Linked DNA regions of Homo sapiens: all the other regions are linked to region 5. Evidence: promoter capture Hi-C in 16 types of primary human blood cells and fetal thymus (Javierre and others, 2016). All regions are on one chromosome and are shown on one strand. Each heading gives the region's core, a stretch centred on a gene start or on the middle of the fragment in contact. The rest is flanking DNA. Distances are from core to core; before and after follow the strand shown. Region 1 holds the start of LOC105371725 (a long non-coding RNA gene). Region 2 has its middle 5.9 kb from the start of MIR365B. Region 3 has its middle 4.2 kb from the start of MIR193A. Region 4 overlaps RAB11FIP4 (RAB11 family interacting protein 4). Region 5 holds the start of UTP6 (UTP6 small subunit processome component). Region 6 overlaps RAB11FIP4 (RAB11 family interacting protein 4).

The links. The method cuts DNA at HindIII sites, captures the fragments that hold promoters and counts their contacts. A CHiCAGO score of 5 or more calls a contact.
Region 1: a contact is called between a fragment that was not itself captured here and the fragment with the promoter of UTP6 in region 5, in 4 of 17 cell types (M2 macrophages, M1 macrophages, M0 macrophages and 1 more). The highest score is 9.0, in M2 macrophages.
Region 2: a contact is called between a fragment that was not itself captured here and the fragment with the promoter of UTP6 in region 5, in 2 of 17 cell types (M0 macrophages and M2 macrophages). The highest score is 7.1, in M0 macrophages.
Region 3: a contact is called between a fragment that was not itself captured here and the fragment with the promoter of UTP6 in region 5, in 4 of 17 cell types (M0 macrophages, neutrophils, endothelial precursors and 1 more). The highest score is 9.1, in M0 macrophages.
Region 4: a fragment that was not itself captured here is called in contact with the fragment with the promoter of UTP6 in region 5 in 2 of 17 cell types (neutrophils and endothelial precursors); the score reaches 5.5 in neutrophils.
Region 6: a fragment that was not itself captured here is called in contact with the fragment with the promoter of UTP6 in region 5 in 1 of 17 cell types (endothelial precursors); the score reaches 6.0 in endothelial precursors.

The regions. Positions count from the first base shown.
Region 1 is chr17:31,423,610-31,427,884 of GRCh38, forward strand. The region is part of intron 1 of RAB11FIP4 (RAB11 family interacting protein 4); the gene reads left to right. It overlaps LOC105371725 (a long non-coding RNA gene), which reads right to left and starts at 2,507. Exons shown (of 2, transcript XR_934661.3): 1 at 2,437-2,507; 2 at 1,675-1,941. RefSeq lists an enhancer at 1,310-2,037 and a silencer at 1,708-1,908. The HindIII fragment of the contact is 585 bases long and covers 1,916-2,500 here.
Region 2 is chr17:31,578,885-31,583,663 of GRCh38, forward strand. No RefSeq gene overlaps it. Among named protein-coding and RNA genes, the nearest start is that of MIR365B, 5.9 kb to the left of the region's middle. RefSeq lists an enhancer at 1,838-1,887. The HindIII fragment of the contact is 1,831 bases long and covers 1,413-3,243 here.
Region 3 is chr17:31,553,650-31,557,970 of GRCh38, forward strand. No RefSeq gene overlaps it. Among named protein-coding and RNA genes, the nearest start is that of MIR193A, 4.2 kb to the right of the region's middle. RefSeq lists an enhancer at 3,402-4,026. The HindIII fragment of the contact is 4,973 bases long and covers 1-4,321 here.
Region 4 is chr17:31,453,815-31,458,507 of GRCh38, forward strand. All of the region lies in intron 3 of RAB11FIP4 (RAB11 family interacting protein 4), which reads left to right. Among named protein-coding and RNA genes, the nearest start is that of RAB11FIP4, 64 kb to the left of the region's middle. RefSeq lists enhancers at 391-892, 893-1,392, 3,384-4,232, 4,233-4,693. The HindIII fragment of the contact is 6,740 bases long and covers 1-4,693 here.
Region 5 is chr17:31,899,691-31,904,465 of GRCh38, forward strand. It overlaps UTP6 (UTP6 small subunit processome component), which reads right to left and starts at 2,018. Exons shown (of 19, transcript NM_018428.3): 1 at 1,846-2,018; 2 at 1-40. The coding sequence starts at 1,937. RefSeq lists enhancers at 1,493-1,642, 1,686-2,277, 1,963-2,012. The HindIII fragment of the contact is 12,725 bases long and covers 1-4,775 here.
Region 6 is chr17:31,400,294-31,404,612 of GRCh38, forward strand. All of the region lies in intron 1 of RAB11FIP4 (RAB11 family interacting protein 4), which reads left to right. Among named protein-coding and RNA genes, the nearest start is that of RAB11FIP4, 11 kb to the left of the region's middle. RefSeq lists an enhancer at 1-429. The HindIII fragment of the contact is 8,648 bases long and covers 1-4,319 here.

The DNA.
Region 1 (4,275 bases), core at 958-3,457, 480 kb before region 5:
CAGTTCAGTTTTCAAAGCCTTTGCAGTGCTATTCAGATCCACCCCAAGTATACATACTCCAGGGGCCAGTCTGTTCAGTCTACACTGTAGTTCAGTTCTCAGAGTCTTTGGTAGGTTATTTGGGGTCAGTTCCATGTATGTGCAGCTCAGGAGTAGGCTAGGACCTCAAATACAACAACTTTATGGGATCATATTCTCAAGCTCCCTTCTTTCTGTGATGCCGCCCTATCCAGCTTCCAGGGGCCCCTTTTTCTCATTTTTTTCCAGGTAAAAGATTTTCCCTTTCTCGGAGTTTTAGGTCCCCCTGTGTGACTGCTACGGCTGCTGCCACCACCTAACCTTTGGGACAGGTTTTACCTTGTAGGGAGGGGGCTGGGAGAGAAAAAAGACCCAGGGCACTTCTCCCACTCGATTTTTCCCAGGAGGCCCCCCTTTCCCGGCTTCTCATCAGAAAGAGAGTTTCTTCCGTAGCTTTTTCTCTGTGCACCTGCTGCACAGTTCTGGGATTTGGGCTCCTGAGTCTAGGTCAGGAAATATGCAAGCTCACCACCGTATTCATCTTACTTAACGTTTTTGTTTTCCTCCCCAATTCACCTTCCACTATTCACTTTTCACAGTCCTTGTGTAGTTGTTTTATGTCTTCTGTCAGGGTTTTTAGTTATAATCAATGGGAAAGCTAGACTGTAGTGTGCTTACTCCATCTTAACCAGAACCAGGAGGCTTGCTTGGCTTTAAATATTGGCATCTAATTTTAAGTCTGTCCTCAAGCCACATCTGAGATGCTAGCTGGCCACCTCTGCTTTAGTGGCACAGTGTCTCAAAATTAATTTTTCTTTCTTTTTTTCTTTTGAGATGGAGTCACAATCTTGGCTCATTGCAACCTCCCGCCTCCTGGGTTCAAGCAATTCTCCTGCCTCAGCCTCCCCAGTAGCTGGGACTACAGGCGCGCACCACCACACCCAGCTAATTTTTTTTTTTTTTTTTGAGGCGGAGTCTCGCTCTGTTGTCCAGCCTGGAGTAGAGTGGCACGATCTCGGCTCACTGCAACCTCCGCCTCCCAGGTTCAAGTGATTCTCCCACCTCAGCCTCCCAAGCAGCTGGGATTACAGGTGTACACCACCACACCCTGCCTAATTTTTGTATTTCTAGTAGAGATGGGGTTTCACCATGTTGGCCAGGCTGGTCTCGAACTCCTGACCTCAGGTGATTCACCCATCTCGGCCTCCCAAAGTGCTGGGATTACAGGTATGAGCCACTGTGCCTGGCCTAATTTTTCTTTTAATACTCAAATTCTTAAGCAAAAGTTGTCAGTACCAATGCCAGTTTTTCTAGATTAAAAGAGAGCAGAATACAGATTTATTCTTTCTCTGGTCAGAGCAAGCCCCTAAACCTGTCAGCATAATAATAGTGATTGCAATTATTTTAGCAGAAATAATAATTACTGGCTAAGGGCATGGAGTCTGGAACCAGGCCTCTTGTGTTCAGCCGTCTTCTACGAACTGTGTGACCTTAATTCTGAATGACTTTGCCTTTCTATGTCTCAGTTTCCTCCCCTGTAAAATGGGAATAATAATGGTATCTGCTTCCCAGGTGGTGGCGAGGATTAAACAAATTCATATGCATAGAGCGCTCAGAACAGTGCCTGGCACAAAGGAAGGCTCGCTAAGCATTTGCTTTGATTCCCGTGAGTAATGGCTGACGTTTATTAGGCACCTTGCCTTGCAGACAGCTTCACAGCGGCAAGATAAGCCGGCTTATCTCACTTGCTCAGATGAGGCAGCTGAGATTTCAGAAAGGCAAATGGCTTGCTTGAGTCCATCTGGCCTTCAGACCTTGAAATTAGGGAGGCGTGGGTGGCTGGGCATGGGTTCAGGGAGTATCTGGCTGGTAATCAATCAGACAGCAACGGCAACGAAGCTTTTTAACATCATCTGGTCTGAGCTAGAAGAGATGTGACCCAGGGGACTGAGTGGGGGGAAAAAATCAGCTCAAAGAGAAAGGCAACAGAAATAGAAGGGGAAGCCTGGTAATTGAGTGGCCCCAAAAAGGAAAGATCAATATTTTACTTCCAGTGAACAACCAATTTCCCTGGCAGCAAGCTGGGGCCCAGCTGTGTGTGCTTCAGTGACAACAGCTGCTTCTGCAATGCCTGCCAGGCCTGGCGAACCCGTCTCTCCTGGCCTGGGAGCCAGAGGGGGAGCCCCAGGGCTGCCCAGCCACGCATGGTGTGTGCCCCAGGGTGGGGGCGGCCCCCAGCTCCCCTGCCTGGGGCCCAGGCTCCCCACGAAGACCACATGGGGTGGCTATTTGCTATGCTCCCTGCGTGACCTTGAGCAAACCCCTCCCCCCGCTGGGACCTCGCTTCACCAACTGTGAAATGACGGGCTGGGTCAGTGGAATGTGTCTGGCCGAGGACCATCTGTGGCAAAAGGTTACCTGATGTCCAGGAAGGTCGAGACTCTTTGTGATCCAAGGCGAGGGGTCCCCACGTAGTGAGTAAAGCTTCTTTGATGCTCAGGGCGCCAGGGGATAGAAAGAACACTTTAGTGCAGACAGCCCCGTGAGAGTCTCTGGCCCAGGAAGGCAACAGGGAGCAGTGGCTGACTCTCTGGGGTCAGTAAGACCTGGGTTCAAGAGTTGCCACTACAGGTGGGCAAAAATTTTAAATTTAAAAAAAGGAAAATAAAAGGGGAGCGTTACCACTGCAGTGACTTTGTCTAAATGTCTTACCCTCTCTGAGCCTCAGTCTCCTCAATTTAAAATGGGGGACTATAATAATAGCTACTGTTAAGTTTGCTGTGAGGATTAAATGAGACTATGTGTGAACCCTCCGTGGACTCCAAGCATTTGCAATACTTCTCCACATAAATGATGCTGTTATTTATTTTAAAAATCACTGAGCCTGTGGTTGATGGTATGTATTGGTAATAACCAGCATGCATTGTTCTAATAATTTCACACCTGTTTTCTTTTTTTTCTTTTTCTTTTCCTTTTTTTTTTTTTTTTGAGACGGAATTTTGCTCTTGTTGCCCAGGCTGGAGTGCAATGGCACCATCTTGGCTCACCGCAACCTCTGCCTCCCGGGTTCAAGCGATTCTCCTGCCTCGGCCTCCCAAGTAGCTGGGACTACAGGTGCACACCACCATGCCCAGCTACTTTTTCTTGTATTTTTAGTAGAGACGGGGTTTCACCATGTTGGCCAGGATGGTCTCAATCTCTTGACCTAGTGATCTGCCCACCTTGGCCTCCCAAAGTGCTGGGATTACGGGCGCCAGGCACCACGCCCAGCCCAATTTCACACTTGTTTTCTAAAGGGCAGGACATCAGTGTGCCTGGCCATTTTTGTTTTTTGTTTTTTGTTTGCTTTGAGACGGAATCTTGCCCTGTCACCCAGGCTGGAGTGCAGTGGCACAATCTCGGCTCACTGCAACCTCCACCTCCCTGTTTCAAACGATTCTCCTGCCTTAGCCTCCCTGAGTAGCTGGGACTACAGGTACACATGACCACGCCTGGCTAATTTTTGTATTTTTAGTAGAGACAGGGGTTTCTCTATGTTGGCCAGGCTGGTCTCGAACTCCTGACCTCAGGTGATCCACCTACCTCAGCCTCCCGAAGTGCTGGGATTATAGGCATGAGCCACTGCGCCCGGCTGGCCTGGCACTTTTGTGGCCACTACTCTGGGGCTGCCACTCTTTGAAGAGCCCTGTGGGAGCAGCTGTAGAGAGGTCACAGCCTGGGGTGTGCCCCCGGTTGCAGCTTGGGCCATGGCGTGGGTGCTTCGGGGACCATGCAGTGGCCCTCAGTACCCCATCTGTCTGCCTGTCATCAAACAACCCCACCCCCACCTCTGTCCCAGGTAGGCTTTTGCTGGCAGAGGAATGGACAGCTCGCCCCACCAGTGTCTCCCAGCCTCAGGGAGCTGTGGACACAGGGATTACAGAATCCAAATCCCTGCACTCCTGCCTCCTAGGTGGACTTGAGGTGAGGGTCCTCATCAGTCAGTCAGCACTCTGTGGCCGACTCCACCCTTGACTTGCTTCAGAAATAATGAAGGCAGAGCCCTGACCTTGGAGAGGACTGTAGGCCTGAGCATGGGAGGCTGGAGGGTAGAGGGTGCCCTGGCTCATCCCCACATTCACAGGCCCCCTATAATGCCAGCGATGCAAAGGCAGGAGGAGAGGAGGCGGAATGCCAGCCAGGATGGTGGGTGGGCTCCCCTGCAGCCCTGCAGGTGGCACCTGGGCATTGCTATTCTCAGAAGCCACGTCATTGCCT
Region 2 (4,779 bases), core at 1,078-3,577, 320 kb before region 5:
CTTCTACTATAGGGCATTTGAAAAATACAAAGGGGCCAGGCTTGGTGGCTCATACCTATAATCCCAGCACTCTGGGAGGCCTAGGTGGGCTGATCACTTGAGTTCAGGAGTTTGAGACCAGCCTGGGCAACATGGCGAAAACGCCGTCGCTACAAAAAATACAAAAATTAGCTGGGTGTGGTGGTGCATGCCTGTAGTCCCAGCTTCTCAGGAGGCTGAGGTGAGAGGATTGTTTGAACTCGCGAGGTGGTGGTTGCAGCGAGCCAAAATCGCTGCATGGCACTCCAGCCTTGGCGACAGAGCCAGACCCTGCCTCCAAAAAACAAAACAAAACAAAACAAAAAGAGATGGAAAGGGCTTATAAATGCCCATACCTAGAGATAATGTCTGCTAATTAAATCTATCTTTCCAGCCTTTTTAACTCATGCCTGTACTTCCCCACCCAGTTAGCAGGATTGGGACTTTTAAAAGGGTCAGGCTCATAACTCATTTGAGCAATGGCCCTGTGCCCTCAGGCCAGAAAGCCTTTATTTTCTTTTTACCAAGCAGGATATGCTGTGGGCCGCTGCTGGCCTCTGGCCAGGAAGCTCAGTGATCTTGCTGGAGGGTGTTTGAGCAGCACCAGGTCTCTCTAAACCAGGATTGATGAAATTGTCAGTGAGGATGCCGGACAAGAGGGCTTTATCCCGTCTGATTTATAAGTGGGCGGCTGCATTGCTTCTTGACCTGGCTGCACAGAAGAATCACTTGAGAGCATTAAAAACATGCCAATGCCTGGTCCCATGCAGGACCCATTGGATCTGAATTGCTGGGGAATGAAAGGGCCCAAAGACTGGTATCTTTGTTTTTGTTTGTTGTTTTTTATTTGTTGTTTGTTTTTTTAACACAGGGTCTCTCTCTGTCTCCCAGGTTGGAGTGCAGTGGCTCGATCTTGGGTCACTGCAGCCTCAATCTCCGGGGTGCAAGTGATTCTCCCACAGCCTCCCAAGTAGCGTGTGGTGTGTGCCACCGCGCCTGGCTGGTGGTTGTTTTTGTTTTTGTTTTTGTTTTTGAGACAGAGTCTTGCTCTGTGGCACAGGCTGGAGTGCAGTGGTGCGATCTCGTCTCATGGCAACCTCTGCTTCCTGGGTTCAAGTGATTCTCCTTCCTCAGCCTCCCGAGTAGCTGGGATTACAGGTGCCCACCACCTCGTGCGGCTAACTTTTGTATTTTTAGTAGAGACAGGGTTTCACCATGTTGGCCAGGCTGGTCTCAAACTCCTGGCCTCAAGTGATCTGCCCGCCTCAGCCTCCCAAAGTGCTGGGATGACAGGCATGAGCCACCACGCCCAGTGCCTGGCCATTTAAAAAATTTTTTTTGTAGAGACGAGGTCTCACTATGTTGCCCAGGCTGGTCTTGAAGTCCTGGGCTCAAGCTTCCCAAAATGCTGGGATTATAGGCATGAGCCACCACACCTGACCAGTTATTATTTTTTTTTTTCTTATGTTCCTCAGGTGAGTCTCTTAAGCAATCAGAGGAGAACTGTTGGGTTAAATGCCCACAAGCTAGAGATGGAAGAGGTTTCCTCCAGCTTTGCCTTCAGAGCCCGATCAAGGGATGTGACCATTTGCAGTTGGCCAACTTTCATTTCCGTTACTGTCTCTGCTGCTCAGTCATCTTTTGATCCTCATTTTGCAAGCAGAAAACTGAGGCTAAGGGGATCGGGGGACTTATCTGAAGACACAGAATATGGCAGAGATGAGATGTAAAATACACAACTTCTGACCCTCCAGATTAGTGCTGTTTCAGTAGTACTAGTCATTAGTATTCATGATGAGCATATGGATCATAAGAAGCATATTCTTGTGCTTAATAATAATTGGACACTTGGTCATCACAGTATGCTGAGGCGTGGGTAGGGGCTGCCCCAGCAGGGTGAGTCATCATCCCCTAGTTTCCCAATGCTCTGTGTCCCCTGCCAGCCAGCCTGGACCCACAGCTGCCCGCAGCCTGCCCTGTTGCACTAATCCCAGCTGTGGGCACGGTGAGATTTGGCCCCATTTTACACATGAGGAACAGGCTCAGAACACTCAAGAGGCTTGGCCCATGTCACCCAGCTCTCCTTGCCTGGACAGAGGCATCTAGGAAGGAACACAGCCCTGCATGGGGCTTGCTTGTCTGAGTCCTCAGGGACAGAGCTCTACTGGGGGTGCCCAGGTCTCTAGCAGACTGTCCCTGCCCCTCTCTCCTTCCTGCCCAGCTCAGCTCCAGAGGCCTGGCCTGCGGGCAGGCTGGGCAGGCAGCCAGCGCAGGGAGCTAACGATGGGTGCATTGTCGGCTCCAGGAAGTGGTCAGCTGTTCCCTGGCAGGTCTGCAGAGCCGGAGGACCAGCCTGCCTTGCTCGTGGAGGGTAGAGATAGAATCTGGGAGCTCAGAACACCATTTTCCCGGAGCCCAGTGGCTCTGGGCCAGCCCTCGGGCTTCCTTTGGAAGGGAGGGCCCCGTGTACTCCTCCGCTCCTTCCTTGCTTGGCATTGGCCCTCTCCCTCCTCAGTCTGGCTCTCACCGTCCCCCGGCCCAGCACTTTGCAGCAGAGTGTACACTCTTGGCAGCGATGTCCATTAAACCTGCTTCCCAGAAAGCAGCATGGCTGTACAGGCAGATTCAGCCAGCACCTTAGTGGGAGATGGGGCAGTGGGCATCAGCTCAGGCTTTTCTTGCCCAGGTTCCCTGGGGAGCTGGGTTGGAAGATAGCCCTAAGCTGCCTTGGCTTCCTGCTTCCTGGATCAGAAGTGCCCTCAGCTCAGTCAGCAGCCTAGCCGCTGGACAAGGCTGAGACAAGCGCTTTGACCTCCTGGAGTTGGGCTGGGACGAGCCTTTGCCTGGGAGTCTGATCAAGGCGGTCACTGAGCTGAGAACCTGGGGTAAAGCTCCCTGCTGAGCCTGTTGCCTCATTTGTTTGATGGGTGCCATAGTTCCCTGTAGGAATGTGGGTACTTTCTAGGCTTCTTCCAAATAGATACAAGAAATTGTGGCTGCCTTTCCCTTCCCGGCCAGGAGTACACTTCAGCAGAGAACTCAGTGATGCCTGGCATGGGGAAGATGCCCAGTGAATGGTGGTTGCCCCACACGGCTCAGGAAATGAAGTTTGGGTCACAGCCTGAGGATGGTGCCTTCCATCCTTGACCCTGCAAGGACAACCTTTCCTGACAGTCTCCTCCCTGGGTGAAGTATTGGGACAGTGGCTCTGGACTGGAAAACTGAAGCTTTACCTCTTTGCTCTGGATTCCCATCAGGTCTAGATTGCTGAGGCCCAGCGCCCACAGAGGCATCTTCCCCTCTAGGGGGTTTGTCCTATAAGCCCGGACTCCGTCAGCTCCGAGGCACTCCTGCTGGGCCTGGGCCAGAGTGGCTGATGTGGAACTGCTCCCTCCCCTGCCAGCTTCCTTGGGGTGCAGACAGCCCAGCACAGGCAGGAAGGGCTTTCTGTTTGGCTGGACTGGTGGGGAAGCAATTAGTGCTTACTTTCTGTTTTGATTCTTGTAGCTAATAGGCAGAGTTTGTGATGTCACGGAAAAGCAGCCTTGGGCCCGCGTGGGTTTGAGGTCTGTCCCTGATAGTCTGGCCAATGTGGAATTGTCTGGAGGTAGGGGTGTATGCTGACACTACTCCCTGGGTATGAGGTGGCCATCTGTTGGCTTTCCATGCCCCCTTCTGATAATACCTCTTTTAATACCTCTTTTTTCTGTTAATAACTTCAGGAGATCACTTCTCCCCTACCCTGTATCTCTGGGGTTCTGGTGTGGCCAACCCCAAACCCTGGCTTTAGACACTGGCATGTGTTCCAGGCCTGGAGGCCAAGTCCTGAGACTCTGCCATGGGACATCTGCAGCAGTTATGGGGAAAGAAGCATTCTTTTTCTGAGGGAGTTGCTGTATTGATAGGATGTAGGCTGGGAACTGCTGGTGGCCATCCTGTCCTCAACTTGACAAAGCCAACAAAGAGGAAAGAAAATGAAGAGATGAGGCCAGGCACCGTGGCTTGTAATCCCAGCACTTTGGGAGGCCCAGGTGGGCGGATCACAAGGTCAGGAGATCGAGACCATCCTGGCTAACTCAGTGAAACCCCATCTCTACTAAAAATACAAAAAAATTAGCTGGGCATGGTGGCGGGTGCCTGTAATCCCAGCTACTTGGGAGGCTGAGGCAGAAGAATGGCATGAACCCAGGAGGCGGAGCTTGCAGTGAGCTGAGATTATGCCACTGCACTCCAGCCTGGGCGACAGAGCAAGACTCCATCTCAAAACAAACAAACAAAACAAAGAGATGGAGAGTATGGATCCAGACATCAGTGAGCCCCTGGATCCAGCCATGCCTGAAACCAGCTGCAGCCTGGACTAACCTGATTTTGTGAGCCAATACATTTCTTTTCTTTTTTCTTTTCTTTTCTTCCTTCCTTCCTTTCCTTTTTCTTTTTCCTTTTCTTTTTTCTTTTCTTTTTTTAGAGACAGGGTCTTGCTCTGTCATTCAGGCTGGAGTGCAGTGGTGCAATCATAGCTCACTGCAACCTCAAACTCCTGGGCTCAAGCAATCCTCCTGTCTCAGCCTCCTGAGTAGCTGGGACCACAGGCACATGCCACCACACCCGGCTAATTAATTTTTTTTTTTTCTAGTGATGCGGTCTTGCTGTGTTGCTCAGGCTGGTCTCAAACTCCTGGCTTCAAGTGATCCTCCCACCTCAGCCTCCCAAAGCACTGGGATTATAGGTGCGAGCCAGTGTGCCTGTCCTTTTTTCCCTAAA
Region 3 (4,321 bases), core at 1,174-3,673, 350 kb before region 5:
TGAGGACCCTGGGCCACTGCACCTGGAGGGTTTCCCACAGTCTAGATCTTGCTTACTGCAAACTCTTGGTGCAACCCAGTAAGCTCCTCAGTCCTCAGTACTTCCTGCAAATCAAATTGGCAGTTAGATCCAGACGCTGGATCGGAGTCAGGTTGGTTGCCTGTGGCGAGACTCTGGTATTACCTCCTCTGAGAAGCCTCTGATTCCCCCAGGTAAGGAGTCCCTCAGTTTCTTGTCTGGGACCCCTCTGTGTGTCTCACACCATACTTGGAAGCCCCTTAGGACTTGGATGGTGTCTCACTCATGTCTGTGTTTCCAGCAGCTGGAACAGAGACAGAGCCTTGGCACAAGGAAGGTCCTGACCTGAAGGGCTAAGGAAGACTTCCCTGAGGAGTGACATTGTGGCTGGGCTCTGCAGGATGAATACGAACTCACCAGAGCACAACCAGGTCTTGGGTATCTCTGCCCTCATTCAGTCATCTTTGACACTCAAATATCATGATCTAGGTTGCATCTAAGCAGGCAGGGGTTCTTTTCTTTCCGCAGTGGCCTCTCTAACCTGCAGGTAAAATCAATTTTTGAATTAAGAAACAAATTCTCATTCCCTGTAGATGGTTTTATTAGCAAACCCCAAAGGTCTAACCCCATACTTGGGGACAAATTTACCAATTTGGAATAATACACTGATAGAAATGAAACCAGCCAACCCTCTCATTTCACACTGCAGAAACAGGCAAAGAGAAGGAAAGTGATTGTTCTAGGTCACCCAGAAAGCTCTACTTTTATCATAGATATTATGCTTGTCTACAGCATGAGCTCAAATCTTCTAGGAAAAGTCATCTTCATTATTAACTTGACATGCACCCAGGAGATGGTCTATCTCTTTGCCAGCCTGTAGGCCAAACTGGCACCTCACTTGTCAAACACTCATGCCTGATCGATAGGAACAGCAGATGGTGACCAAAATCACTATACTTGATTACAATATTAAGGCTTTAGGGGCAAGAGAGGGACACAGATATACACTGTCAAAGGTTGGAATCCCCAGAAGGCAGACCCCTAGACAGAGCTTAATGTGCAGAATGCTTATTCCACCTGGGAAAGGGTGGGAAGCAGGTGTGAAATGAGGGAGAGCCCCCCTCCCCCACCACTCACTGGATGTGGGCTGTCCAGAGAGCTTAGACTAGGCGGCTCTAATGGCAGAAGACAGTCTGTTGACAGCACTCCAAGCAGCTGGGACAAACCCTTTCTTGAAGGGGTAACATGGCACAGTGACCATCACACACAGAGTGGGAACTTAAAGACAAGAATCAATTCAGTCACAGAGAGTGAGGGCAAAGATAAAGCTCATAGGCCAAAGGCTTAACTTCTGGATCAAGGGCTCTAATATTTTCCAGACATGGGCTTTGGCTACTGAAAGCATTTCAAAGAACACTGAGTAAGAGGGCTGGGACCTGGGGCCAGTAGGGATCACTGTGTGACCTCACTTCCCAGGAGTCATCCTCAGCATCACGTGCAGAAGGCCAGCCTGGGTAGGGAGCCTCAGGTCACCTGCCTCCTCCCCAGACCCCATCATCCAGGAAAACTGAATTCAGCTGAAAGCACAGCCATGGCATTGCTGAAATATGACAACACCTGGAGACAATGGATTCCTTTCTGGGGAATTTACCCCTCTGCTGCTGCTTGAGGGCAAGCGTCCTGTCTTCTCTTCCCCTGGTATATAAAATGAGGCTCTTCATTTGTTGGCTGAATGAATGAAGGTCAGAAAAAGAAAACTCAACTTCTCATCCTCCAGTAATGGAACAATCAAGTTGGGAGAAATCACAGAGAAAAAAATCACGTCCCAATTTTGCTGATGAGGAAACTGAACTTCAGAGGCAGGAAATAACTCTCAGAAGGTTGCAGAGAAGGTGAGGAATCGAAACAGGCCATAAGCAGTGACAAGTCTGGTAATGCCAGAGTAGTTTTTCTGCAGTAAAGATTTCCCTTCCTGCTTGCCTTTCCCCTGATTCTGGGGCTCTCCCTTGGTCCAGATCATTTGGGCCGAGAGAAACAAAACCCAGGTGCATTGCCATCTAAGCAGAATATGCTGAGAAAATCACCCTCACAAATTCCATAGTCACCTACAAAGTACTTCAGGTTATCACCAGCCCTTTTCTCCCTCTGGTCCCCAGGATGCGTATGTCTTCTCTCAGAACTCTTTCTGGGCCGGGTGCAGTGGCTTACACCTGTAATTCCAGCACTTAGGGAGGCTGAGGCAGGAGGATCACCCGAGGTCAGGTTTCACTAACATGGTGAAACCCCGTCTCTACCAAAAATACAAAAATTAGCTGGGCATGGTGGCGGGCGCCTGTAATCCCAGCTACTAGGGAGCCTGAGGCAGGAACCTGGGAGGCGGAGGTTGCAGTGAGCCGAGATTACGCCAATGCACTCCAGTCTGGGCAACACAGTGAGGCTCTGTCTCAAATAAATAAATAAATAAATAAATAAAAATAACAGAGAGATGTTAATATCATCATCATCATGGTATGTTCTTGAAGTTCTCAAACAGCAGGAGGTAACCCTGTTAAGTGAAACCAATTTAACAGCTTGTAAACAGCATTCTAAAAATGAAACGGTAACACAGAATATATATTTGAGTGCATAAGAATTGTTTCATAAAACATTTGTTTTACACATGTACATAGATACATACACATATATACATACGTACACACACAGGTATTTCCTATCATGGGGCATGACTGAGTTTGAAAGCTACTGTTCTAAGGCAACATTTCTCTAAAGATGATTGAAAGGAGTGTTTTTCTTTCTTTTCTTTTTTTTTTTTTTTAATTTTTGAGACAGGGTCTCACTCTGTTGCTCAAGCTAGGGTGCAGTGGTATGATCACAGCTCACTGCAGCCTCAACCTCCTGAGCTCAAGTGATCCTCCCACCTCAGCCTCCCGAGTAGCTGAGACTACAGGTGCGCGGCACCACGCTTAGCTAATTTTTTTTGTTTGTTTTTGTTTTTGTAGAGACATGGTTTCGTCAGGTTGCCTAGACTGGTCTTGAACTCCTGAGCTCAAGCAATCTGCCTGCCTTGGCCTCCCAAAGTGCTTGTGGCTTACAAGCCTGAGCCACTGCGCCTGGTCTATTTTTCTAACTTTAGTAATTTGCATTTGCATACCACTGCCATTATTGTTGTCATATCAGAATACTACCTATAACATTATTTACTAAATTCTTGTCTTTGAGTTGGCTCACTTTAACCATTTTTGCCTCATTGTAACAGCAATATTCAGAAAATTTATATTTAATACTACATATTACATTTTTTTCCATCTAAAACCATCTCTCATATGAGCACCACCTTTTGGGAAACGCTGGTGGCAAGGAGTGTCACATGCAAAAGCCCCTTCCAGAAGTCAAGCTGGGAGCCAGAAAAGCTGTATGATGTTGGGATGTTGGGTGAGCCCCCACCCCCTGCCCCCGGGGTCCTTCTCTGCCCCTGGAGGCAGGCCCAGTCCTGCTGCTGGGTATCCCAAGTTCTTGTGGTTGACCTTCCCGCAGTGGCCACCTCAGGAAGAAAAGGGCAGGCCCTATCTGCCTGTGGACTGGATCTTTCTTGGGATGTTCCCGCCAGTGGAAAAGGCCAGGACCTCGATCTGCCTTTCTGTAGTGAGCTGCATCCTGCTGCTGCCCCAAGATCGAAGAATTTCCTTTCTTGTCCAGCTTTGATTCCATTGATGGGATTAGGCACCCCCCACGGCCGTGTCCTTTGATGTGGTCAGGGGGTAGCAGGGAGATTTCAGGCCCAGGGAGCAAATCTTAATCTTCTTCGAGCTTCTCTGGGATCAGCACCGGGGTAAACCCATTACAACCCTGCCCTTTCATCCCCCCAGGACACCGGCTCCTCCCGGCTCCTGAGTCTCAGAGATCCTAAGGGTTTGTCAGATTTGGAGCGAGCAATAAAAGGGGAAGAGAAAGCAGAACACTAACTCCAGACCCCCTCCAGCCCCGGCTGCATCTCCAGCAACGTCAGGGCATCTTCTTTCTTCCCTTCTAATCCTGCGCTCCCACAAAATGGCGATTACAGAGGCCTGGGGCCAGCGCTGTCCATGCCCCAGCACTGGGCATCTCTGCCAGCGCTTGGCCGCCATCCCTCCCCCAGCTACGCACTCCTGGGAGCACCAGCTCCTGGACATGTCCTACCCAGGGATCCCGATGTGGGGATCAGATAAACCAGATATACCACTCAACCCTTACCAAAGTGAAGTTTAGAGACAGGGTCTCCCTCTGTCACGCAGGCTGGAGTGCCGTGGTGCGATCATAATTCACT
Region 4 (4,693 bases), core at 1,297-3,796, 450 kb before region 5:
AAAGAAAAGAAAAGAAAGTGCATGGAAGGCTCTCCGCACTGTGGAAAATACTGGCATTTCTCAACTCACAATGCATAGATTGTGAGACATATCATGGTCCATTGAATATCTTTTGACTCAGGGGTGGTGACCAGGTGCTGATAGCAAGGCCTGGGGCCCAGTCCTCCTCCCACAACCGCATCCCCCCCAGCCCCACCCACAGCCACCTGCTGCTCTAGCACTAGCTAGAAAAGTCAGCCCCTGGGCATTCTCAAGAATTGAGCCCACCCCTTTGTCAGACCATTCTCCCAGGGCAGAGACTGGCCTGATCACATGAAAACCACACCTGCCGAGCCAGAGGGCAAATGCTCCAACATTGTATTAGAGAGATTAAACAGCTGTTCTCAACCAGATCATTGCTACATTCCATTTCCTGACCAGGAAAATGAAAATGGCTGTCATAGAAGACAGAGCATAAAGTCTGATTCTTTTCTTTTTGAGATGGAGTCTCGTTCTGTCACCCAGGCTGGAGTGCAGTGGTGCGATCTCAGCTCACTGCAACCTCCGCCTCCTGGGTTCAAGCGATTCTCCTGCCTCAGCCTCCCGAGTAGCTGGGACTACAGGTATGTGCCACCACGCCCAACTAATTTTTGTATTTTTAATAGAGATGGAGTTTCACCATGTTGGCCAGGTTGTTCTCGAACCCATGACCTCAAGCAATCTGCCCACCTTAGCCTCCCAAAGCACTGGGATTACAGGCATGAGCCACTGTGCCTTGCCTAAGTCTGATTCTTAAGATGGAAACTCAGTCAGGCGGCCATGGCTCATGCCTGTAATCCCAGCACTTTGGGAGGCCGAGGCAGGTGGATCGCTTGAGGTCAGGACTTCAAGACCATCCTGGCCAACATGGTGAAACCCCGTCTCTACTAAAAATACAAAAATTAATCAGGCCCGGTGGTTCCTGCCTGTAGTCCCAGCTACTCGGGTGGCTGAGGCAGGAAAATCGCTTGAACCCAGGAGGCAGAGGTTTCAGTGAGCCAAGATTGTACCACTGCACTCCAGCCTGGGCAACAGAACAAGACTCCTTCTCAAAAAAAAAGATGGAAACTGTCTGTGGGCTCTAGGGAGGCAGTGGAGGTGCCAGGTGAACTGACGATTAGCACCACAGTGGGAACAGGCAGGAAGAGGACTGGTCTCCAGTCTCTGGTCTCCTGTCTGAACAAGTCTGTAGGGGAGGAAAAACTTCTCCTCTACCCTTTTATGTTATGTCTGCAGTCTGCAAATAAAATTGAGCAAAGACAGATTAATAGAAAAAAGGCATACGAATTTTATTGTTGTTTTTAATTTTACATGCATGAAAAGCCAAAGAGATGGTCAGACCCAGGGTTTATATACAATTTTGACAAAGGAAGATAAGTTGTGGGCAAGTAACTAAACAAGGAAGAGGGGGATTTGGGCTCCTAAGGGCAGTATATTCTGGGAAGGTAGCTAGGAAATGTGTGTTAGATTGGGGGTGGTGGTTTAGATGTGTTATACAGATACATAACCTCCCCATTGGATTTATTCTCCTTTTCATGGGACGGGAGAGGGGGGCACATTTACAAATGGAAATTTATGCCCTACTTTCAGGCACCTAAGGGGAGGGCAGAGAGCTCATCCTGTGTCTGCTGTTTCTCAGTTGCCTTCAGCTCAAAATAATCCTTATGCCAAAGTGGCGTATTGCAGGGTGGCATATTTGGATCCCCTTCAAGTTCCTGCCTCAGTCCCTTCCCCAGTCCTCTGCCTTGTACACATGGGTACCTCACTGTACCTACTCAAACTAGGTCTCCTTTGACCACAGGGAGTGGGTCTGCTCTGATAATGTGTTGATAATTGGTTGACTTTACAACCAATATTTCAAAACAACTGCCTTATCGAGCCCAGCCTGGGGTTTCTGTCTTGTGCTGTGACTTGCAACATTCTTGGTCAGACCCCTTCTCCTCAAGGGAAACTTTAATCTAGGCTGAAGGGGCCTCTGAGATGGGTACCAGGCAGGAGGCATGTCAGGACCCTTACCTGCTGCAGTGAATGTCAGCTTTGCCACCTTCAGGGCTGACGCTCCCAAGGCAGCTGCACTCACCCTCCGCTGAGAGTGCCATCCTGGGCTTACAGGCAGAGGCTCAGCTCTGACATGTGATATCGGAGAAAGTCAGTCATCTTCAGCATCTTCAGGTCATGTTAACCCTATTCCTTTAGATTTTCCATTATCTATCCTAATACCAAGTTCCGTGTCAGAAAGCGCTGTTTGCTCTTACCTCCTTGCAAATACGTCTTTACTGTTGTACATTTTGTTTTTATTCTCACGGCTCATTGAATATTGCTTCAATTTCATTAGAATTGCTACAGGAAACCTTACAGCTGATTTGTCATCCTGTGTACTCTTTGATCCAATATATTCTTTTTTTGAGACAGGGTCTCACTGTCACCCAGGCTGGAGTGCAGTGGCACAATCTTGGCCCAGCCTTCTAGGCTCAAGCAATCCTCCCACCTCAGCCTCCCAGGTAGCTGGGACTACACACATGCGGCACCACTCTCAGTTAACGTTTGTATTTTTTGTAGAGACGGGCTTTCACCATGTTGCCCAGGCTTGTCTCGAACTCCTGAGCTCAAGCGATCCGCCCCCCTCAGCCTCCCAAAGTGCTGGAATTACAGGCGTGGGCCACCCTGCTGGCCCCTAGTACATTCTTTTTAGGATTTTGTACCAGAAAAGAAGTCCTTCCTGATGAAATGATACCTTTTTACATCAGATAACAAGAGTTACAGCATAACTATCCCCTTGCTGTCCTTTTTGGTTTTGGTAAGTCAGAAAACTTAGAGCTAATGAGACTGGTGAATCAATAAAATCTGCCTTTCCATTTAATCATTTACCTCCTTTTTCTCTATGGTTTATTTTTATTTTTACTACTCTAGCTATGAATGTGTCTTTTATTGTAAATAATTTCATAGCTGTCAGGAAGAGATAAAAAGGAATCTTGATTTACTAAGGAGAGACTTATTAAAGGATTATTATTGCCTGGGGGTGGTGGGGAGGGGACTATTCCAATGGAAGCGGGAGCATTGCAGTGGGAGAGAGCACTGACCAGAAGATCCTCCTGCACCTCCAAAGTTAAGCCGAAAGGGTTGTTCTTTTCTAGGCAAGAGTAAACAAGGCTTGAAAGAACTGGTGCGGGGAGGTAGGTTGAAAAGGTGGCCTGGTCCTGGGGGCCTGTCTTAATGCAGGCCAACCTGTCCTCCGGAGGGCTGTAAGGAGGGATAGTGAGTTGCTCAGGTGAGGGTGGCCAAAGTTCACAGAACTGGGGGAAAGAGAGAAACTAGAGTTTAGTTAACAAGCATCGTGTTTTAGGTAGAGAATGGGAATTTGGAGGGCCTTCCTCACAGGTTCTCGACTGTGTTCTCCTGGGGGACGAGGACCAGCTTCATGGCTTGCTGTGCCCTGCGCTGGGCCTGACCAAGTTACTTGGTCCCTGTTTGTTCACTGACGTTGACTGAGGGCCTTTCCAGAGTCAGGAGCTGACCTCTCACAGAGATTCCAAGAACTAGCAGGTCACACTCTCACCTCTCCCCAGGGGTCCCCAGTTCCGGCCATGCCCTGTGTCCTCTCCTTCTCCTCAAAGGGGTCCCCAGGCCTAACCTGGGGAAGCACTATCCATTCCCTCTCTCACCCCACCCCAGTCCCCCCTGGAACTGGCTTCCTGCCTGCTTCTTCCCCTTTCTCCGGGGTGGGGCGGGACAAGGTGGAGGGAGAGTGGGAAGGAGAGGAGGAGTCACCCAGCTGCCTCCTAGGACTGATAAGAGACCCAGCGGGAGCTTTGAAGGCTGTTACAGCCTGGGGGTGGGAGCAGGCCTGACCCCCACCACCCTCACCCCCAGCCCCGCAGGTGGCCACACCCCTCCTGCTGCCCTACCCTCTGTCTCTCAACTTGGCCCTTTCTGTGCCTCTGTGCTCTCTCTCTTTGTGTGTGTCTCTGTCTGCATGTGTGCCTCCCTCTCCGTCCCTGACTATCCTCCCTTCCTCTCTCTCCTTTTCCCCTCCCCGCTCTGTCTCTTCTCTCTATCTGCACCCCATCTCTCTCTGTCCTGAAGTCTGCATTCTCAACACAGGGAACCTTCCAGTCTGACCCAGGTCTCAGCAGGAGCCAGACAAAAGGCCTTGAGGGAAGGGACAGATGGAGTGTCCCCATGCTAATCTCCTTTAACCACCCCCAGCAGACCAACCCTGCCAAGTAGGTACTGTGGTACCCATTTCGCTGATGAGGAAGTTGAGGCTCAGACAGCAGTTAAGACGTGTGTCCAAGGCCTTGGGGCCACAGTGTGCAGGGCCAGGATTTTTAGCTGCATCTGATCCAGTTGCCTCAGAATGCGGGCTGAGTCCACCTTTCCTGAGGCTCCTCAGGTGTCCCAGGCCTCTCCTCACTCCCTCCACCCCATCCCTGGAGGCAGGACCAGAGGACTCCTTTGAGGAGCTGCATAGCTTGGGAGCTGCGCATCAGGAGCATCTGCAGTGCTGCAGGACCATCTTCTACCCAGAGGCATGAAGCAAAGTATCATGGGAGCCCCGCAGGGCATTGCGGGGAGGCAAGATTCTCCCAGCCCCTTCCTGCTGCTTTTGGAGGCCTGAAGATGGCTCTGACCTGGATATAGGGGGTCCTAAAATGGAAGCCCTTTGGTTGAAGAG
Region 5 (4,775 bases), core at 768-3,267:
GATTTTGTACTCTAGATCGGAAGCCTTCTTAATGATAGCCCTGAGGAGAAAGCCATTTAAACTTCACTTGAAAACTGCAAAAATTAAACGTTTAAGTTTATTTTGAATATATTTAAAACATGTTTTTCAAAATACGAAATTCCTAGAGTTATCTTTCATAAGAAAGTATTATCGGCCGGACACAGTGGCTCATGCCTGGAATCCCAGCACTTTGGGAGGCTGAGGCGGGTAGATCAAGAGGTCAAGAGACTGAGACCACCCTGGTCAACATGGTAAAACTGCATCTCTACTAAAAATACAAAAATTAGCTGGGCGTGGTGGTGCGTGCCTGTAGTCCCAGCTACTCGGGAGACTGAGGCAGGAAAATTGCTTGAACCTGGAAGGCGGAGGTTGCAGTAAGCCGAGATCGCGCCACTGCCCTCTGGCCTGGCGACAGAGCAAGACTCCATCTCAAAAAAAAAAAGTATTCTCTTACACAATTACTTTTGTGTTCTTAAGGGTTCATTTTTAAACTTTCAGGAAAATCATCTTAATCAACTCCCAAAACCAATGACATTCCCACCAGCAAAGCAAATACAATTAAGAACTTTATACCATTTATGTATGGTGTTTTTTTTGTTTGTTTTTTTCTCGCTCTGTCGCCCAGGCTGGAGTGCAGTGGCATGATCTTGGCTCACTACAACCTCGGCCTCCCGAGTTCAAGCGATTCTCCTGCCTCAGACTCCCGAGTAGCTGGGACTACAGGCGCTCACCACCACGCTCAGCTAATTTTTGTATTTTTAGTAGAGACGGGGTTTCACCATATTGGCCAGGCTGGTCTCGAACTCCTGACCTCGTGATCCACCCACCTCGGCCTCCCAAAGTGCTGGGATTACAGGCGTGAGCCACAGCGCCTGGCTGGTATTAATAAAGACTTCTTTTACTCCAAGTTCAGGTCACTTAAATTTTAATAATAAATTTCTTTCCGAAATTCCTCTTATTTCTGAGTTCTCAACATGTAAATTTTTTTAAAAATCTAAATTGCGTCTGCCTTAAAAGACTTATTACTACGAAGGACTTACGGGAGAAGATTCAGAGTCCTTAGCTAAGGAATGAACATATGACAAATATATATTAGGAGAATTTAATGCAAGATGTGCAAGACAGGTGTCTTTAGTAATGGTAACATTAACCTTAACTGAGCACTTTCTAAGCGTCCACACTGCTTTGTTTTGTGTTTCATTAACGAATGCTTACTTTGAAGCTCTGAGTCACATTACTACATTCAGACGTTGCAAAACAAAGCAACAGTCACAGAAACCATTAAAAACTATTAAACATAATTTTAACACGCTACTGAATGTCTACCATGTGCCAGGCGCTGTAGTTAGGCTCTGGAGTAGCATATGAAACTGATTTCAATGGTCCCCACCTTCAAGTCTAGTTAGGAATTTATCCACTCCCCCTGGGCTCTCACAGCACTCTGTTCCCATCCCTACAGCAGTACAAGGTACTACAATCAACTTACAGTACACTGTTATCAAAATATTTAATTTGTCTGTCTCCCCCACCACACTCTGCCCAATTAGCTCCTAATGAGCAGGAATCCTGGGTTTATCACCTTTACAGCCCTAAGACCCGGCTCCATGAAGGGCTGTCAAAACGTCTGATGGGTAAGTAGACGGACGGATTACCTTGCAACGAATGAAAAATTAATTCTGGACATCACCGAAAACGAGAAATGGGCTTCCACCACGTTAGGAAAAGTAAACACAGGTCGAGCGTCCCCACATCTAGCCCCTGCCACACACTCCCAACCTCCCCTCAGGCCGCCTCAGCTCTTCCCTCTCCCCAACCCTCTCTCACTTAATCTCCGCATGACTGAACAGTCCAATGCGCTCCAGCTGTTCCAATTCCGGGAGCCGATCTTCTATGCGTTCCTGAATTATCTCTGCCATGAGGTCCGAGGTCTACAACCCCGCGGGTAGCTTCTCAACAGCGAACACGAGCAGGAAGCTCCCGGTTTCAGGTTCGGAGACCCAGCCCTACCACCGACGCGTCCGGACGTAACGTGCTCCCTAGGTCCCGCCTTTTCCGCTTCCGCCACCTCCTACTTAGGGGAAGGCCCTTCGGCTTCTACAGCCACCGTCCCCTCCCTGTGGCCGATTGTGGGATTGCAGCGAGAACCCGCCCTGGTCTTGGGCAGGACGACTCTAGCGGACAGGAGTTGAGGGGCGGGGCTAGACGGGAGGGAGGGGTTAAGTGCGCGCGCCGCTAGACTTGGACAGCCATCAGGAAAAGCGCCTCCAGGTGTAGAGAGGTGGGCTGCTCAAGCCTGAAAGGGACACGAGATGCATTTTCTTCAGAATATTGTCTCCCATCCCACGTCCTGACTTCCCAACACCAAGAACAACAACAAAAAAAAAAGCAAAGGAGGAGGATATTGTACAATTAAACATTTTTGAAAGCCGGTCGCGGTGGCTCATGCCTGTAATCCCAGCAGTTTAGGAGGCCGAGGCGGGCAGATCACCTGAAGTCAGGAGTTCGAGACCATCCTGGCTAACATGATGAAACCCCGTTTCTACTAAAAATGCAAAAAAATTAACTGGGCGTGCTGGCACGCGCCTGTAATCCCAGCTACTCGGGAGGCTGAGGCAGGAGAATCGCTTGAACCTGGGAGGCCGAGATCGCGCCATTGCACTCCAGCTTGGGCAACAAGAGTGAAACTCCGTCTCTAAATAAATAAATAAATAAAATAGAATTGTTTATTATTTAAATCAATATCCTGTCTTTGTAAGCAATAGCTTTCAAAATATATGTCCCTAGGTGAATATCAGACACTATAAATTCTTTTTAGAAAAGGAGATTTTTGTATTGAAAAGTTTGAGAATTACCAAAATAAATCACTAAGGTATAGACACCCTCCTTAAACCATTGCCCAAGCAACTTAGCATTTCTAAGAGAAACACCAGGCAACACAGCTTGGAGGCAATATTGCTGGTATAGTTAGTAAACCTCAAATGATAACTACATGGTTCAGTTCTTTTTTAGTTCTGGATATAAAAAAGCCAAAGCAGCAGTTCTTGCTAAATCTGCTTATTTCAACATTCACATTAGCACCTGGATCCTGTGTGTGATTTATGAAAGGAGAATGGGCTCAGCAAAACCATGTTCCACCTCTGTGCCTTGCATTTCTTTCTTTCCTTTCACATTTTACCCACTCATCTCAGAACTGAGACGAGGGTTGGCTTGTGCTACACCATTTCTTGAATCCTTCAGCTGTAAGACATGTCAGAAGTGGAAGGAAATCACGAATGTAAGACAAAGATAGAATTTATTTGTAAAAGTAAAATCTCTGGGGCTGTGTTAACAGTAAGAGTGGAGATGACACTAGATAGTAAACTCCATATGGGCAGGGAATTTTTTCCTTTTTGACTGGCTAGATACTCTACAGCTTATAGCAGTGCCTACCATATAATAAGTACTCAGTTAATAAATGCATGACACTAAGAAAAGGTACTTGCTAAATTTCTTTAGGTACAAGGAAGTCAGCAAGTTATGACAGACTGTAATCATTTCAAAGTAAATTTGATAGAGACCTTCATAAATTAACCATGATTTTTATTTTATTTTATTTTATTTATTTATTTAGAGACAGAGTCTCGCTCTGTCACCAGGCTGGAGTGCAGTGGCGCGATCTCGGCTCACCACAACCTCGACTCCCCTGGTTCAAAGGATTCTCCTGCCTCAGCCGCCCGAGTAGCTGGGACTACAGGCACGTGCCACCACACCCAATTAATTTTTGTGTTTTTCGTACATACAGGTTTTCATCATGTTGGCCAGGATGGTCTCAATCTCCTGACCTCATGATCCACCCGCCTCAGCATCCCAAAGTGCTGGGACTCCAGGCGTGAGCCAACGCGCCCGCCCAATTTTTAAATCAAACTAACTATAAATACGCTCCTCCTTTATATTGTTTTGTTTTGTTTTGTTGTTCTTTTTAAGACCGAGCCTCGCTGGCCAGGCACTGTGGCTCACACCTGTCATCACAGCACTTTGGGAGGCCGAGGCCACGGATAACCTGAGGTCAGGAATTCAAGACCAGCGTGGCCAACATGGAGAAACCCCGTCTCCACTAAAAATACAAAAAAATTAGCTGGGCCTGGTGGCCTCTCTCTGTTGCCTAATGGGGAGTGCAGTGGTGCGCTCTCGGCTCACTGCAACCTCCACCTCCTGGGTTCAAGCGATCCCCCGAGTAGCTGGGATGACAGGCGTGAGCCACCATGCCCGGCCTAATTACGTTTTTGTTTTGTTTTGAGACAGGGTCTTACTATATTACCCAGGCTGGAGTGCAGTGGTGTGACCACAGCTCACTGCAGCCTCAACCTCCTGAGCTCCAGCAATGCTCCCACCCCCGCCTCCCAAGTAGCTGGGACTACATGTGTGCCCCACCGCACCTGGCTAATTTTCCTTTTTTCTTTTTTGTAGAGACAGGGGTCTCACTATGTTGCCGAGGATGGTGTTTTTGTTTTTGTAAATAGAGACAGGGTCTCACTGTATTGTCACCATGGTCTTGAACTCCTGGCCTCAAGTGATCATCTTGTTTCCCCTTCTCAAAATTCTGGGATTACAGGCATAAGCCAGCACGCCCAGCGATCCTCCCTTATTTTGAAATTTAGCTTTTTTTTTTTTGAGATGGAGTTTTGCTCTTGTTGCCCAGGCTGGAGTGTAGTGGCGTGATCTTGGCTCACTGCAACCTCAGCCTCCCAGATTCTAGTGATTCTCCTGCCTCAGCC
Region 6 (4,319 bases), core at 1,392-3,891, 500 kb before region 5:
AATGAAATGGGGGCTGCACCTTGCATATGTCTTGGAAACGTGGTCCAGGCAGAGGCAGGAGCCTGCCCAGGGGCTTAGAGGCACAGTGAGCCCGAAGACAAGGGTGGGGCCAGTTCCTGTGGCCTTCCCTGCAGGGGCTTTGGCTTTCTTGGAATGAGATGGAAGCCCCCAAAGGGTTCTGAGCGGAGGAGATACAGGATCAGACTTAGGTTTAATGGGGACCACCCTGGCTGCTGTGTGGCTCCTCGGAGAGGCAGAAGGGGCCGGGGAGAGGCAGGGAGACCAGCACCAAGGCTAGTTCTTCACCCAGGTGATGGGCGCTGGGGGCCAGGAGCAGAGGAGAAGCCGTGGAGCAGTGGCTGGATCTTGAAAATGGAGCCGATTGGCAGTGGGAGTGAGCAAGAGGAGACTTTGGAGACAAGCTGCCGTTGCTGGGTGGGGAGGCAGAGAGGAAGAGGGCTGGGTGAGGACTCGGGAGCTCCACGTTGGCCTGTGAGACCTGAGTGCAGCTGTGGAGCCAGTGGCGATGGACAGGTCTGGGGACCACGCTTCAGCCCCCACCGCCTGGCACATCCTGGGCTCTTTCTCCCTTTCCTTCTACCCTGGCCCTGGGGTCTCATCTCATTGCCCACAACAAAGGAGTTTACAGAAGCTGACCTAGGTGTGGTCTGGCCCCCTTTAAAAGTGAGGCTTGGCCGGGAGCGGTGGCTCATGCCTGTAATCCCAGCACTCTGGGAGGCCAAGGCAGGCAGATCACGAGGTCAGGAGACCCAGCCCATCCTGGCTAACACGGTGAAACCCCGTCTCTACTAAAGATACAAAAACAAAATTAGCTGGGCATGGTGGTGGGCGACTGTAGTCCCAGTTACTCGGGAGGCTGAGGTGGGAGAATGGCATGAACCCGGGAGGTGGAGCTTGCAGTGAGCCAAGATCACGCCACTGCACTCCAGCCTGGGCGACACAGCGAGACTCTGTCTAATTAAAAAAAAAAAAAAATGCCAGGCTTGCCCCAGCATCTTCAGATTCTTGGAGACTCCCCCAGGGGCCATAGCTTAGGGTCACCAATTCCCTGCAACCTGTCACCCCTGAGGTCACTGCTGAGGACCCATTGTCCATAGCTTCTGTGCCCTTGAGGGCAGGATGAGCAGAGCAGCCCAGAATCCTTATAGGTTTCTATAACAACCCATGACCCAAGACGGGGAGCAGGCTCCATACAGCTGTAGCCCAGATTCCAGCTGTAAGGACCTCTGGCTTCCCTGGAGACCAAGGCCTTGAGTCCAACACACACTGCAGTTGCTGTGGCTCAGGGCTTACAGGCGCAAAACCCGGAGAAGATTGCCAGCTTCCTCCAAAGTGTTTGCTGATGACACATGGGCCTGCAGTGGGCACTGTCCCCAGGAAGATCCCAGTCTAAGGCTAGCACCTGGACAGGATAGACAGAGGATTGATTTGAACCAAAACAAAAACCAGAAGGGGAGTAGAGGTCATTCAATGAGACTCCCATTCAGTGCCTGCATCACTCAGTAGCCAAGAGACAGGGACGCGCTGCCTCCCAAGGCAAGCCCATTCTCACCTGGCAGGGCTCTGGCTGAGTTCTTGTTCATATAACGAGCTGAAATCTATCTCCTAGAGTTCCATCTGCTCACACTTCCTCCACCCATTCATCCAACCATCTGCCTGCCGGTTCACCTAAGCATCCACTTACCCATCCATCTACCCATCCATCATCCCTTCCATCCATATATACCCAACCATGTACCTCCTGATCCATCCGTCCAGTGAACCGCCCATCCAACAGTCCATCCACCCATCCATTCATTAGCCACGCACCCCTTAGTCCACCCATCTGTTTATCCACCCTTCTGCCCACTTCCGTAGCCTCCCCATCTGTCCATGCATCCATCCATCCATCCATCCATCCATCCATCCATCCATCCACCCACCATCTACCACTTCCTGAGTATCAGTCATGCAAAAGTCCTAAGCACAGACCCAGGGATGGGGACTGGTATTTTCAGGGAGTGACAAGTGTCTCCATGTGGTGAAAGGACAGGGAGGGCAGGGAGACTGAGAACTCAGGCTGGAACAGGGACCAGATGGTGACTTTCGGGAGGGCTCAGGAGCTGGGAGGGTCTGAGTAGCTCAGATGAGTTTTGGATGAGCAGCAACACCTCAGTGCAGTGATTCCTGCCCTCTATGGAATCAACTCTTTTTTATGATTTCTCACTTCCCACACAGGCCATTGGGTCTGGCAAGAGCTGGGACCTTGCTGAAAAATGTGAAGGCTCAGATTATTTTATTTATTTTTATTTATTTATTTATTTATTTATTTATTTATTTATTTTTGAGACAGAGTCTTGCTTTGTCGCCCAGGCTGGCGTGCAGTGGCGCAATCTTGACTCACTGCAAGCTCTGCCTCCCAGGTTCACGCCATTCTCCTGCCTCAGCCTCCCAAGTAGCTGGGACTACAGGCGCCCACCATCACTCCTGGCTAATTTTTTTTTTGTATTTTTAGTAGAGACGGGGTTTCACCGTGTTAGCCAGGATGGTCTCGATCTCCTGACCTTGTGATCCACCCGCCTTGGCCTCCCAAAGTGCTGGGATTACAGGCGTGAGCCACCGCGCCTGGCCAGATTATTTTTAAAGGTGCTTATTATGATAGGTGGACCTCAGTTTCCTTATCTGTAAAATAGAGGTCATACCCCTATTTGTGGCACTGTTGTGATGGTTGGAGATTGAATATATAGAGATATATGAGTATGACTGAGCATGGTGGCTATTGCATCATTTCTTCACCGCCCCGCCCCCCCGCCCAGCCATGACCCACATGGGTACTGCGCTGCCCTCAGTCCTAGGACTGCACCTCTGACCCCTTTCTCTGCCCAGTACACCCCAGGCATGGGGCTCCCTTGTGCAATGACCAAAGTCTTCTGCAGCCACTGGTGATTTTCCATGGACAGAGAGGATATGGAGACCCAAGGACTCCAGGACCCACCAAAACTTGCTGGCTGCCTTTGTATTTCTTTCTTTCTTTCTTTTTTTTTTTTGAGATGGAGTCTCGCTCTGTCACCCAGGCTGGAGTGCAGTGGCGCAATCTCGGCTCACTGCAACCTCTGCCTCCCAGGTTCCAGCAATTCTCCTGCCTCAGCCTCCCAAGTAGCTGGGACTACAGGAGTGCACCACCACACCCAGCTAATTTTTTGTATTTTTAGTAGAAACGGGGTTTCACCATGTTGGCCAGGATGATCTCGATCTCCTGACCTTGTGATCCACCCATCTTGGCCTCCCAAAGTCCTGGGGTTACAGGCATGAGCCACCGCGCCCGGCCCTGCCTTTGTATTTCTTAATCCCTTTCGTCATCACGGCAACCAGGAGCCTCCATGAGGTGAAGTGACTTGTCCAGGGTCTTGAGTAACTGGTGGAGCTGGGATTAGAACCCAGGTCTGTCAGGTTCTAAAGCTGCCTTTTTAGCTTCCTGCTGTGGGGGTCTCATGTTCTTAGAAGGTCAGAGGAGGGAGAGAGTGACCTGATCTGAGTTCCAGAAATCTAACATTGGAGAAATCTGAAATTTGAGACTTCCTCTGGCTGGGGACTTTGAGCCTGGGGTGGTCTCGGTTGGGAAATGCGCAGATCAGAAGTAGGTCTGGGCTCTGCAGGATGGGCGGCCAGGGGCCCTCTCATGGGCACTGCATCCCAGCACTGGGCAGGGAGGGAGGCTGCCAGCGAACTGTGCCCAGAATTATGCATCTGCGCCACTTCCTGTTCAAATGGTGATTCCATGGCCCCAGGAGGTGCGCATTTCTCTGACTGCTCCGATTTCCTGCCAGGCACTCATAGGTAATCCTCTGCAGGCCCAGGCTGTGTGGGGCTGAGTCTTCTTTGTCTCCAGTTGGCCGCCCCGCCAGCCCGTGGACCACACACTCCTGTTCCTGCATCCTCCTCGGCCTGCACTGCAGATCCTCCCCAGTCAGAGGCCCTGCAGCCCCAGCCGGCCTTGGCCCCATCCTGCTCTCCGCCCCGTCCCCACTTCCACTTTTCTACTGCACCTCAGATCAGGCCAGGCCATCTCTCAGGTTCTCTCCCTGCCCTGGGGAAGTGACTGGGAGCTGGGCCCTAGTGTCAGACACATCTGGTTTGAGACCCAGCTCTGCAACTTACTTGCTGCGTGACTCTGAGAAGTTACTTAACCTCTTTATGCCTCAGTCTCCTCATCTGTATAGTGGGGATAATATTAGCAATGCATGTTAAACCCTCAAAACGACACGTGACATAGTGTCACATATGTTTGTTAAAATGACCGTTACCACCACCTCTAGGTT